Linked DNA regions of Homo sapiens: regions 2 and 3 are each linked to region 1. Evidence: promoter capture Hi-C in human tissues and cell types (Jung and others, 2019). All regions are on one chromosome and are shown on one strand. Each heading gives the region's core, a stretch centred on a gene start or on the middle of the fragment in contact. The rest is flanking DNA. Distances are from core to core; before and after follow the strand shown.

Region 1 (4,435 bases), core at 820-3,319:
ACATACGTAGTTATTCACTGGGGCACTATTAGTGAGCAACAGAAATGGAAACAACCCAACTAAATGCCCACAATAAAAGACAGGTTAAATAATGCATTCTGGCCAGGCATGGTGGCTTACGCCTCTAATCCCAGCACTTTGGGAGGCCGAGATGGGAAGATCAGTTGAGGCCAGAAGTTTGAGACCAGCCTGGTCATCATAGTGAGACCCCCATCTCTGTCAAATAAATAAATAGGAGAAAAAATTGTTTAAATAAAAATTAAAAACCACTGTCATATACTGCCTCATATACTGCCTCAAAAAAATATAATAACACCATCTATAAAAAAAGAATTGAGGGCCAGGCGCAGTGGCTCACTCAGGGCACAGAGCCTAGTTTTTGGTAGAGAAAAACTATTAAAAATAGTACAGCTGCACACAGTGGCTCATGCCTGTAATCCCAACACTTTAGGAGGCTGAGGTGGGATGATCGCTTGAGCCCTGGGAATTGGAGACTAGCATGGGCAACATGATGAGGCTATCTCTACAAAAAATAAACAAAATTAACCAAGCATGGTGGCATGCACCTGTAGTCCCAGCTACTTGGGAGGACGAAGTGGGAGGATGGCTTGGGCCCAGGAGGTAGAGGCTGCAGTGACCGGTGATCACATCATTGTACTCCAGCCTTGGCGACAGAGTGAGACCCCCAACTACCAAAAAAAAAAAAAAAAAGTACCCACAGGAGAGTGGGTGGGACAAATAATTCTCAATGTGTATACCATGTTATACTGTTAGGTTGAGCCATATGTAATACTTTACCTACTCAAAACAAAAAAACTTAAAAACTCTTTTAAGCTTTCCTAAATTATAGATCCTGTCTTCAGAAAAATGCACCTACCTATGGAAGCACCAGCATCCCTGTACCTTAGGTTGGGAACGTCACAACCTACATTCAAGGGTTAAATGTTGTGATGTCTGCGATTTACTATTTAAAAATTTCAGTAAAAATGAACCAACCACGTCATAACGTTAAAAACTATTAAAACCAGGCGGGGCGCAGTGGCTCATGCCTGTAATCCCAGCACTCTGAGAGGCCGAGGCGGGAGAATCACTTGAGGTCTGGAGTTCGAGGCGATAGCGAAACCCCGTCTCTTTAAAAAACAAAACAAAACACTATTAAATCTAGATAATGACAGGGTTAGGGAAGTTCGTTATATTACTCTACTTTTCTGATAATAAATTTCAACGACAAAAAGTAAACGAAAATATAAAAGCAGTATCAAAAAAGCCAAACCCGTTTCTGGGCTCCAGCATCCTTCACTTCTCATCACAGCGGATACAAACAAGGTATCCTGAGTCTCACCGTATCTGCTCCATGGCTTCCCACGTCAGGGTCCTGGGCGGGGCACCAGGCGCCTCCATTTGCCTCCGAATTTTCTGGAATCGGATTGCTTGTTTCTGTCGTTTCAGGGTGCTGGGGGAAGAGAACCAATGGCAGAAGCCATGCGTGGAAGCAGAATGGATGTTTGAAGAGCCTCAGGCTAAATCATGGAGCGCCCAGCCCTCTTCTCTTTGATCGCAAGGGCAACCGGGCCATGTTGCCGGCTTAGAGCTGCTCCGTACACCCAGAAAGCTAACACCTAGAACAATAACTGCCTGTAAGCATGCCGAACTCTCTAAACTGATGATGAAATACGTCACTAATGAAGGGACCAGTGGTCCCAGGGGAGCTGAACACCTGACGCTGCGCCCCTAACAACGGGTAAGAAGAAACAAGGGCCGCTGCGCAAGCAGCGGCAGGACACCCGGCGCCAAGGGGGCGCGGCCTGGAGCGCCGGGGCACGAGGCCCTGCTTCAAGCTGAGGGCCCGGGGAGAAGCCGGTACCTCTCCACCTCCTGCAGCTCCCGTTCCTCCGGCTCCCAGTCGGAATCGGGGTCCGGCTCCCGGCCAATAGGGCCTGGGCCCGCCACCCCCCGGGTCGCGAACCCACAGCGAGTGACGGCGGCGCAAACGCGCCCGCCCAGCAAGAGACTCAGGGTAACCGCCATGTCGACGCAAACCAGCCTTCAGCAGTCGGCTACGAAACAGCAGCGGAAGTAGCCGGGTAAGACCGGAAGTGGAAGGGGCGGGCCGGAGGCTGGGTAGTAGCAAGTTATTTCCCGCTTCACTTGGTGGGGGTAAGATCTGGGCTCACGCTGCTCAGTGGCCCACCCTTTCTGCCTGTAACTGTGGAGAGGGCTTCCCTGAAACGTGAGGGCCGAAATGAGGTACAGGACGCTCCTGGAAAACTGCATAAACTTTAATTAAAGTACGGATTCCGTTTCCAAGAGCCGTCCCTCCGCCCCAGCGGCTGCCCAGGCCTGCCTGTCTCCGCCACCTCGGTGGGCAGGGCTTCCGCTCGGCAGTCTTCTGACGGCGACAGCCCAGTGCCTTGGGCACTCGGCTTCTCTGGGAAAGGGGCTCATTGTCTCCTGGATGGCCTCCAGCCCCGGGCCGCACCTAGGGTTCAGACCCATCACCTAGCGATAAACCCAGGCTAAGGCTTGATGAGCAGAAATGAGTACATGGCTGGCCTTGGCGCCTCTTCATCTTCTAGTCTTTACCGATCCCCAATTAATCTTAGGGTATTGAGGAATTCTTGGTGTCTTTGTATTTTGCCTTATACAAATGGGGTTCCTGGGCAGGGCTTTTCAAAGTGGAACTTGGTGGCAGTCATTCATTTAGCAAAGATTTAATGCCCTTTGGAAACCTGGGGAGGTTATCCAGGAGAGGTAGAGTGCTTCCCTCCTGCTTTTACCTGAACTGATTGATGTTGAGGAGTGCTCTGGAACGCTGCAGCATGGGTGCAGACGCAGGGCAGAGGGGAACCTTGGCTGCTCTGTGTTCAGAGTTTACCATGGAGGGCAAGGTGCATTCAGTCCATGAGTCAGATGCCACTCTTTCCGGTTGCAGAAAATAGCCCTGCTTTGGGGTTAAAGTGGGTGGCACTGATCCTGCCAGGACTCGGTTTATGGCTTCTAGCCTTCTGCTGGCTTGTCCTTCTGCAGTGGAAACATGGATGTCCCTGAGTTGGTATTCACAGAAGAGATTTGTTCACCTCTTTCCCAACTGTGGCCCAATTACCAACACAGAGGAAGGGCATCTCATGCTTCCCTCCACTGTCTTTCCCACACTGTATTGTAATTGGTATGGTATGTCTTTTTGTCCATGTTCCTATTACCTCTTGAGTGCTGGGACTGTATTTCTGCCATTTCTATCACCAGGGTCTAGTGTACAGAAAGGATTAAATAGGCCTGGTGCGGTGGCTTACACCTGTAATCCTAGCACTTTGGGAGACTGATTCAGGTGGATCAGGAGTTCAAGACCAGCCTGGGCTACGTGGCAAAAACAAAATATACAAAAGTTAGCCGAGCATGGTGGTGTGTGCCTATAGTCCCAGCTACTCAGGAGGCTGAGTCAGGAGAATTACTTGAGCCCGTGAGTGGAGTTTGCAGTGAAGTGAGATCAAGCCATTGTACTTCAGCCTTGGCGACAGAGCGTGACCTTGTCTCAAAAAAAAAGGAGTAAATAAATGGGTACCCTAACTTCCCCATTCTTACACTGGTGGAAGTGCCATATTATATTTTAGGGGCATCCAAGCTCTATGCTTGCTAGTGGGATTTACATATGTCAAAATGACCAAAGCTAGTTTTGCATACTTACGGCTAGTGAGCCTGATTCTGGCACTGGAAAAATAGCACCTCCCAGCCTTCTTCATTGACAATGAACAGGAGTTGATGGCTGCCGGCTCTCCTGTCCAGTTGAAGTTCTTGGGCTGCAGATGGTACCGGGGAACATGTGGGATTGCAGCATTCATGCTTGGCAGTGCCCCTAAGATCCTGGGGATTGATTCATGGGGCAGAACTGGATGCAGGAAATGAGGAGCGCCCTGCTCTGTGGCAGCCCCTCTTAGGAGCACCAGTAGGACCAGACTCATAGATTTCAGTTCTTGACTGCCCAGCCTGTCCTAGCAAAATCTAGGCTAGAGGAGAAGAGCAGCCCCTTACCACATTTTTATGTAAGTTTGGATGGAGCGTTGGAAGAAGGAGGTAACTGAAAAAAATCTCTTCTAGGCCGCGGCCACTATTTAACCAGATACTCCTTTGGGGTTCAACAAAAACAGAAGACCCAACAGGTTTGCTACCAGCCCAGGGAATAGTGAAAGCGGCAGCTCTTTTGTTGGCCCAAATCTGTTTACTTATCTCCCATTAGAGCTGGGGCACTGGCAGTGCTAGGGAGAAAATTATACAGAAGCCACTGAGGGTGGTGGGCTTGTTATTTGTCAGTCATGAGTGTGGGGTTATTTTGGGACAGGAATATAGAGAGCAAGTTTCCTGTAAATGAGAAGGTTTGGAGCTGCAACTTGCTGGATGTCATATCTAAAACAAAGGAGCTTGGGAACAGACGCAAAAGGAA
Region 2 (4,435 bases), core at 1,170-3,669, 600 kb after region 1:
GTGGTCACTTGGCCTTTTGAGTGCAGGTCTGAGCGACTCCAGAGTTCCCACACAGACAGAAGAAACTGGCCCGGGTCTTGAGGAGTCCCTGCAGACAAGGGCGAAAGAGGGCAAAGGGCCTGGGGCCCAGAGATGCTGGGGAGGCAGCAGGCCTTGGGATTTGAGGGCTCCAAGTCACTTCCTTGGCACAGAAGCCACTGCTAGATTCTCATGGGGAGGGGCAGGGCTCACCCAAACTTGGCCCTTTCCTTCCAGTCACAGCTGCCAATGAGCTGGCCTGCCGAGGCTTGGACCACCTGGAGGAAAAGATCCCCGCCCTCCAGTACCCCCCTGAAAAGGTGAGCCCTTCCCACCTCTCGAAGCCTCCCTGCACTCTGTCGTCACCGCCTCTCAGGGAGGAGAGGGCAGGGGCTGCTGATGCCGTGACTGGAAGTCTGTGTCCCATGGTGAGCACCCTCCAAGGCTGGCGGAGAGTGCCTGCTCCCAAGGCCACACAACAGGCTCCTCTTCTCCCTGTGAAGCTAAACGGAGGTGGGGTTTCTGGGACCAGCAGGCACGAGCCCAGAGGCAAACCCAAACAGGAGCTTGAGGCGGGTCCCACTGCCTCCCGATACCGCACCCTGGGATCTGAGGTTCCATAGTCTGCCCTGGACCACTTGGCAACTACAGCTGCCTAAGATCATGAGTCACACTCATTCAGATCCCAGGAGTGTCATCCCATATCCTCAAGATCCAACCTTTTATGGACCATGAGATTGAAGGTCACTTTACCTGGCTACATATTTATTGGGTAGTTGCTATGATAAGGACTCATTTTTGGTGCTTCTGGGGAATAAGCTTCAGTCTCTGACCTCATCTATCTCACTGACCAACTATCTACCCTTCCCACAAACAGGTACTGAGCCCTACCCTATGCCCGGGGCCATCACCTATGCTTTATCAAGCGCTCTTCTTTAATCCACTTGTCAACCCTCTGGGATAGGGGTTGTTATCTCCATTTTACAGAGAGGAAACCAGTGTCTCCCCCACGGCCACACAGCCTTAAGTGGGGACAATGAGAGCAGGTCTATTCAGCTGTGAGACCTGTGCTCTTTGCTCCCCATTTTTCCAGATAAAAGGCAACATTTTTGTCACAAAAGAGCTCCCAGAATAATGAAGAAAAAGACAAATTATTTCAGTGCAGAACTTGTAGGAAGATCAAGCACACCTATAAATCAACAGAAATGCTGTGTTCTGAGGAAAGGATGGAGGAGATTCCTTGTGAGCCCAAGGGTATCAGGACAGGTGGCACCAAGGACGAGCCTTTGGGGTCATCCTCACAGGATGGGAGGGATCTTGACAGGCTGTGATGCGGGGTGAAGAAGCCAGGAGATCCAAACAGTTGGCACAGGGAAGGTTGGAGCCCTCTCCTCTAAAGCCCAGCTTAATTCCAGGTACCTAAATATCAGTACCAGTTCCCTGGGCCTTTAGGTGATGCCTTCCTGGGAGCTGGGCTCAGGCCACCAGACCCCGGAAGGGCAGCCCTTGTAGGGCCTGCAAGACCACATGCCTAACACCCCCACCAACTTCCCCCAGATTGCTTCTGAGCTGAAGGACACCATCTCCACCCGCCTCCGCAGTGCCAGAAACAGCATCAGCGTTCCCATCGCGAGCACTTCAGACAAGGTCCTGGGGGCCGCTTTGGCCGGGTGCGAGCTTGCCTGGGGGGTGGCCAGAGACACTGCGGAATTTGCTGCCAACACTCGAGCTGGCCGACTGGCTTCTGGAGGGGCCGACTTGGCCTTGGGCAGCATTGAGAAGGTGGTGGAGTACCTCCTCCCTCCAGACAAGGAAGAGTCAGGTACCTGCCATTCGGAGGCTCGGCCTGGGAGTGAGTTGTCACACACACTGCCTGGGAATCAGCAGGAGGTGGCTCAACCAGCCACTGCTCTGGAATAGGGAAGGCCAGTGGGATTTTCAGATGGATTCATAATCATTTACCCCCCCCACCCCCACCCCATCTGTAAAGAGGGAAAGTGAGTTGTGGAACTCACCAGTGAGTTTGTGGTGGACCTAGAACACCTACTTTCCAGTCCTAGACATGACCCAGATCTCTCCGGCCCCTCTCTGACCTGTTTTCTCTTCTTTCCCCCCAAATCCCTACCCAGCCCCTGCTCCTGGACACCAGCAAGCCCAGAAGTCTCCCAAGGCCAAGCCAAGCCTCTTGAGCAGGGTTGGGGCTCTGACCAACACCCTCTCTCGATACACCGTGCAGACCATGGCCCGGGCCCTGGAGCAGGGCCACACCGTGGCCATGTGGATCCCAGGCGTGGTGCCCCTGGTAAGTATCTGCCGTGAGCTCTGACTGACCCGGTGCCTGGGAGCCCTGTGGGCCTCCTAGTCCCTCCCATCCCCCACCCATCACCCCTTCCTGTCCTGAGAACATTCTCTCTTCCAACGTGGGCTGGGGCTTCAGTTCTAAGAGGACTTGAGAGGGGTAGAGGGATGGCCTTCCAGACCACAGGGAAAGAGAAGGGAGAGGATGTTAAGCAAGGGCAGGCCTGCCTTGCTAGAGTGCTCCTTCCCCACCACTCACTTCTATCTCCCCCATTTCCCTCTGAGTCTCCCACAAGCCCCAGCCTTCATACCCCCAAGTGGACCTCTTTCTATGGGTCTTCCCACCTATAAGACAGCAGGACCTCCATCTGCTATGCAAGCACTAGGGACTGTCATCCTTAAATAAACAAAGTATACAACCCATTTTGTCAGGGAGAGTGTACCCAGCACCAATGCACCCAAGGTGAAGTTGCCCTTTCTAGGCCCAGGGAGAGTTAACTCCCCACCACTCCCCACCACTCCCCACCTCCACCTCTCTGTATCTTAGCAGAAATAGGCTGGATGTTTTTCATAAGGAATTTTAGTAAGAAACTAAGGCCAGAAAAGAAAATAAAACAATACTAAAGCATAAAGGCCAGCAAACAAGATGACTACTTTTCAGCCATCTTTTGAGCAGTACTTTTAAAAGCATCATCAGGCGTGGATCATTCATTCAAGCAAGTGTTGCCCCTGCAGGAATACAGGAGTAGTAGCTCCCCTCTGTCCCCTGCATCAATAACAGCTGAGACTGAGTCACATGCCTGGACCCCGCCTGCAGTGGGCAGAACCTCACGTGCCACCATTCGCATGGAATAGAGTGGCATCCCCAAAAGCTGTGTAATAAGGAGTCTCTGTTTGTGGGGCTCCCTAGAGGTTTAGAATGTGCCTCAGGAGATACCAGCCCCCTTGCTCAGTCAATTTCTTCCCATGGGACACTCTGGTTCATTGAATTTTTCACTCTTAAAAGATCTGGGAGGAGTATCTACCAAAGCTAACATACATATATCCTATGGCCCAGCAGTTCCACTCTTAAGTGTATACCCAACAGAAATGAGCACTTAAGTCTCCCAAGACAAGTGAAAAATGCTCAGATCAGCAATATCCTTAGCTAAGAACTGGAAGCGATGATAATGTCCATCAACGGTAGAATGGGTAAATTACAGGAAATTCGTATGATGGAATATTACACAGAAATGAAAAAGAAGGAACTACTTCCATTTGCAGCAACATGGGTGAAACTTACACCATCATATTTAACTAAAGGAGCTATTAATAGATGAATACACATGGTGTGACTCCACTTACATGAAGTTCGAAAATAGGCAAAACTAAGGCATGGTGACAGAGAGCAGGACTGTGGTCACTCTTGGGGGAATGTGGACTGAGTGGGGACACAGGGAGTCTTTGGGTGTTGAAAATGGTCTATGTCTTGATCTGTGGTGGTTACACAGGTGTGTTCTTATAAAAATTCATAGAGCTTACACTAAAGATGTGTGCACTTTAGTGTATGTAGATTACCAACTCAATAAAAAGTTTCCAGAAAAGTCTGCTGGGGCTGAGCCCTGCTCACCACCTGGCCCGGACCCTGGGGGCGAGGGGCTTGGGCTGCTGGGGCTCCCTGGCCTTCAGCAGGGGCAGTTGAGCCAGCTATCTGCTGCCATCCTCCCTCAGAGCAGCCTGGCCCAGTGGGGTGCCTCAGTGGCCATGCAGGCGGTGTCCCGGCGGAGGAGCGAAGTGCGGGTACCCTGGCTGCACAGCCTCGCAGCCGCCCAGGAGGAGGATCATGAGGACCAGACAGACACGGAGGGAGAGGACACGGAGGAGGAGGAAGAATTGGAGACTGAGGAGAACAAGTTCAGTGAGGTGAGGGGGAGAGTGGGAGCCTCAAGGTCCCCCAGCCCACAGAAGGGGTGAGAAGCAGAGGCATAGGGTGAACTCAGGGCCTCTGCCCCAGATGCAGGGGCACGGCATGTGCGTGCAACACCCTTCACCCCACCCCCAAATGCCCAGCTGGCGAGGGACTTCCATGTCATTCTCTCAGCTGACCCTTGCAACACTCTGTAAATAGGCAGGGCAGAGA
Region 3 (4,435 bases), core at 1,196-3,695, 570 kb before region 1:
GAGATGCCCTGATAGGTCTTCAGGGAGGAGCGGGGACTCCAGTGCTTGGGCCCTACCTGTCACCTGCTATGTGTGTGTTGGGGGCCTGAGCCGCCTTCACAGCAGACAGCGCTCTGGAGGGGAAGAGTTCACCTCACAATTTCCTGAGCTGGGGAGGAGGGTGCGTCAGGCAACACCGCGGTGACAGCCCCCGCCCTCGCCCCCGCCTGCTCCGAGATTTACCCAGCCCTGCTGGCAGCGGCGGGTGACCTCAGCTCACCCACCAGTCTCAGGAAGGGGTGAGGTTGTGCTGGGGGATTGCCCTGAAGCTGCTTTTGCTGCGGTGCCTAGAGGGTATGATTTGGGGGTGCTTTCGTAGGAGCTGGTGGAGTTGGTGTGGGGTGACACTTCCCAAGGCTCTGCAGGGGCAGGGGGGCCTGAGCTGAAAGAGAAGGGGGCTGAACCGGGCGCGGTGGCTCATGCCTGCAATCCCAGCACTTTGGGAGGCCGAGGCGGGCAGATCACCTGAGGTCAGGAGTTCAAGACCAGCCTGACCAACATGGTGAAACCCCATCTCTACTAAAAATACAAAAATTAGCCGGGCGTGGTGGCACATGCCTGTAGTCCTGGCTATTTGGGAGGCTGAGGCAGGAGAAGCGCTTGAACCTGGGAGGTGGAGGTTGTAGTGAGCCGAGATTGTGCCATTGCACTCCAGCCTGGGTGACAGAGTGAGACTCCGTCTCAAAGGAAAAAAAAAGAGAGAAGGGGGCTGAGAAGGGAGGTCCCACTGGGCCTGGAGGCCTGGACCCAGCCCTGTCCAGCATCTCCCACAGTGTCTGACGGTGCCCCCATGACCCCCACAGACCCTCAACTGGCTCCACAAGGAGCCTCCGTCCTCCCAGAAAAGTTAGGTTTTTTAAATTTCCATTTAAGCTTTTTATCACATTCTTCCCTTACTGACTTGATTTCCCCCTTTCATTCCCCCTTCCTGTAAGCTCGTCTCATTGTCATTCTTTCCAACAAACCTGAAACTAAAAATAGCTAACATTTCACACGTTATCTTCTTGATTCCTATCAAGCAGCTCATGATGCCCCTATCTTTCCGATGAGGAAAGAGAGTCATCCAGGGCAAAGGACTTGGCCAAGGTCACCCAGTAGGCAGGGCCCGTGTGCCTTCCTGCCTCCCGGGTGCAAGGCCCCAAGGCTTCGCCGGCTCTGAGCCTCTGAGTCACTGGAACAAGGCAGAGCCAGGTGGTCTGGACTGTCACGGAAGCCTTCCAGAAAAGGAGGCCTCGAAGCCTAGGGGCGAGGAGGAGATTCTGGTGGAGGTAAAAGCACCTGCAAAAGCCAAGCAGTGGTCGGCTGGGTGTGGTGGCTCACGCCTGTAACTCAGCATTCTGTGAGGCCGAGGCGGCAGATCACTTGAGGTCAGGAGTTCGAGACCAGCATGGCCAACATGGTGAAGCCCCGTCTGTACTAAAATACAAAAATTAGCCAGGCATGGTGGCACACACCTATAGTCCCAGTTACTCGGAAGGCTGAGGCAGGAGAATCACTTGAACTTGGGAGGCAGAGGTTGCAGTGAGCAGAGATCGTGCCACTGCACTCCAGCCTAGGTGACAGGGTGAGACTCTGTCTCAAAAAAAAAAAAAAAATAGGCAGTGGGCAGGCCTGTGTGGCCAGAGTGAGGGCACAGTGGACGGGGCAGGAGTCAGGGCCCTGCTTAAGAGATAGGTGGGTGATGAGGGGGAGGAAGTGGATGGGGCTTACGGGGCTCACCAATGCCAACGAGGCAGGGGCTTAGGATCAGGACTGGGACAAGCATCTCTGGCAAGAGCGCCTCATGAGATAGCCTGGATGGTTGTTCCTTCCAAGAGAGCCTAAAAACCCAGGGGAACCAGCTTCCCTTTTCAGCTCTTCCCAGGGTCAGCTGCTCCGCAGGGAATCTTATCTTTAGCTGGGACCTCCAGAGACTCTGGGTCCCCACGCTGTCTTCCTGAAAACCCTGTTTACACAAGAGTGTCAATGACTCATCCAGCTTCAAATGTAGTGCTTCCCAACTCCAGCTGTTCAGAAGAATCATCCTCCGTGGATGTGTTTTATGTGTGTGTGAAGGTAAATTGTTTTCTTTTTTCTTTTTTTTTTTTTTTTTTGAGATGGAATCTTGTTCCATCACCCAGGCTGGAGTGCCATGGCATGATGTCGGCTCACTGCAACCTCCTACACCTCCTGGGTTCAAGTGATTCTCCTGCCTCAGCTTCCCAAGTAGTTGGGATTACAGGCGCCCACCACCACGCCTGGTTAATTTTTGTATTTTTAGTAGAGACAGGGTTTCCTCACGTTGGTCAGGCTGGTCTCAAACTCCTGACTTCAGGTGATCCACCTGCCTAGGCCTCCCAAAGTGCTGGGATTACAGGCAGGAGCCACCGCGCCCGGCCTTTGTTTTTATAAAAATGATATATGGCCTGGCACGGTGGCGCATGCTGTCTCTACTAAAAATGCAAAAATCAGCCAGGCATGGTGGCGCGTGCCTATAATCTCAGCTACTTGGGAGGCTGAGGCAGGAGAATTGCTTGAACCCAGGAGGCGGAGGTTACAGTGAGCCAAGATCACACCACTGCACTCCAGCCTGGGCGACAGAGTAAGAGTCCATCTCAGGAAAAGAAAAAAAAAGATGTATGCTGGCTGGGTGCAGTGGCTCACGCCTGTAATCCTAGCACTTTGGGAGACCGAGGCAGGTGGATCACTTGAGGTCAGGAGTTTGAAACCAGCCTGGCCAACATGATGAAACCCTGTCTCTACTAAAAATACACACACAAAAAAATTGTCTAGGCGTGGTGGCGTGCACCTGTAATCCCAGCTACTCAGGCACCTGAGGCAGGAGAATTGCTTGAACCTGGGAGGTGGAGGTTGCAGTGAGCCGAGATCATGCCACCACACTCCAGCCTGGGCGACAGAGAGAGACTCTGTCTCAAAAAAAAAAAAAAAAAAAGATATATGCTAACTCTCAAACAAAACAAGCAATTCAGAAAAGTACAAAGAAGGAAGTAACAAACTCCTCCCATTAGAATGATATCTTCAGGCCGGGTGCATTGGCTTGCACCTGTAATCCCAGCACTTTGGGAGGCTGAGGAGGGTGGATCATAAGGTCAGGAGTTCAAGCCCAGCCTGGCCAAGATGGTGAAACCCCGTCTCTACTAAAAATACAAAAATTAGCTGGGCGTGGTGGCGGGTGCCTGTAATCCCAGCTACTCGGGAGGCTGAGGCAGAGAATTGCTTGAACCCAGGAGGTGGAGGTTGCAATGAGCCGAGATCGTGCCACTGCACTCCAGCCTGGGCGACAGAGTGAGACTCCGTCTCAAAAAAAAAAAAAGAAAGAAAGAAAGAAAAAGAATGATATCTTCATGAAGGCAGGGGTTTCATCGGCTCTGTTCTCTGCTGCACCTAAAACTTCTGGTGCTCAGTACATGCTTACTATAGCCCGTTATTCGTGTTAACCTTGGGGAATGCCACCTACACAGAGAAGTTTGGAGAGATGAAGAGGGATAGGAAGGTTGGGGCTCAGAAAGTGATACCCCAGACTGGGGCTCTGACATGCTGAGGACTGCAAAGCTGCCTAACCTTGTCTTGTACCCTCCCTACCCCCGAGTGGAGGGAGGGACTCTTCCTGGAATTCCTTATCTGACTAAGAAAGTTTCTTTCCAAAAGAATTGCAAAACCAGGTACAGCAGCATGCACCTATAATCCCAGCTATTTAGGAGGTTGAGACTGGAGGATCACTTGAGCCCAGGAGTTTGAGACCAGACCAGGCAACATAGGGAGACTCCGATCTCAAAAAACAACAACAATAAAAGAATTGTGGTTGTCTCGGCCGGGCGCAGTGGCTCATGCCTGTAATCCCAGCACTTTGGGAGGCCGAGGCGAGTGGATCACCTGAGGTAAAGAGTGTTTGAGACAAGCCTGGCCAACATGGTGAAACCCCATCTCTACTGAAAATACAAAAAATTAGCCGAGAATGGTGGCACGTGCCTGTAGTTCCAGCTACTCGGGAGGCTGAGGCAAGAGAATTGCTTGAACCTGGGAGGCGGAGGTTGCAGTGAGCCGAGATCGCACCATTGCACTCCAGCCTGGGCAACAAGAGTGAAACTCTGTCTCAGAACGAACAAACAAACAAACAAATCCAACTTTTGTTCCTTTGCAGTTCCGCCCTCACCTTCCCATAACTTGTCCCACTCAGCTCCCAGTCATTTGCTAACCACTGTCTGAGCACTGAGCCTATTCATTTCTCCATTTTTCCTCTCCTCAACCTTCTGGCCCCTCTTTGAGTTCATATTTTGCATGTCTCATGTGCATGTAATAAGCCTGTTCTTTTTTCTCTTGTTAACTTGATTTTTGTAATAGAGGTGCCGGTCATGACCCTTTACATGGGGAGAAAAGGGATCACCCTCCTTCTGCC

The links. Contacts are between HindIII fragments. The study calls those that stand out against the background at their distance.
Region 2: a fragment that was not itself captured here is called in contact with the fragment with the promoter of NGRN in region 1 in 1 of the 25 tissues and cell types used here (thymus).
Region 3: a fragment that was not itself captured here is called in contact with the fragment with the promoter of NGRN in region 1 in 1 of the 25 tissues and cell types used here (lymphoblastoid cells).

What each region holds. Positions count from the first base shown.
Region 1 is chr15:90,263,306-90,267,740 of GRCh38, reverse strand. It overlaps NGRN (neugrin, neurite outgrowth associated), which reads right to left and starts at 2,069. Exons shown (of 3, transcript NM_001033088.3): 1 at 1,865-2,069; 2 at 1,343-1,453. The coding sequence starts at 2,028. It overlaps TTLL13 (tubulin tyrosine ligase like 13), which reads right to left. Exons shown (of 15, transcript NM_001396017.1): 14 at 3,683-3,794; 15 at 2,264-3,021. The coding sequence ends at 2,774. It also overlaps a transcript of CIB1 not described here. RefSeq lists enhancers at 1,115-2,085, 1,879-2,108, 2,469-2,598, 2,086-3,057. The HindIII fragment of the contact is 14,519 bases long and covers 1-4,435 here.
Region 2 is chr15:89,667,385-89,671,819 of GRCh38, reverse strand. It overlaps PLIN1 (perilipin 1), which reads left to right. Exons shown (of 9, transcript NM_002666.5): 4 at 256-338; 5 at 1,576-1,840; 6 at 2,148-2,320; 7 at 4,027-4,218. Among named protein-coding and RNA genes, the nearest start is that of PLIN1, 9.8 kb to the left of the region's middle. The HindIII fragment of the contact is 6,131 bases long and covers 1-4,435 here.
Region 3 is chr15:90,834,043-90,838,477 of GRCh38, reverse strand. No RefSeq gene overlaps it. Among named protein-coding and RNA genes, the nearest start is that of FURIN, 32 kb to the left of the region's middle. The HindIII fragment of the contact is 6,342 bases long and covers 1-4,435 here.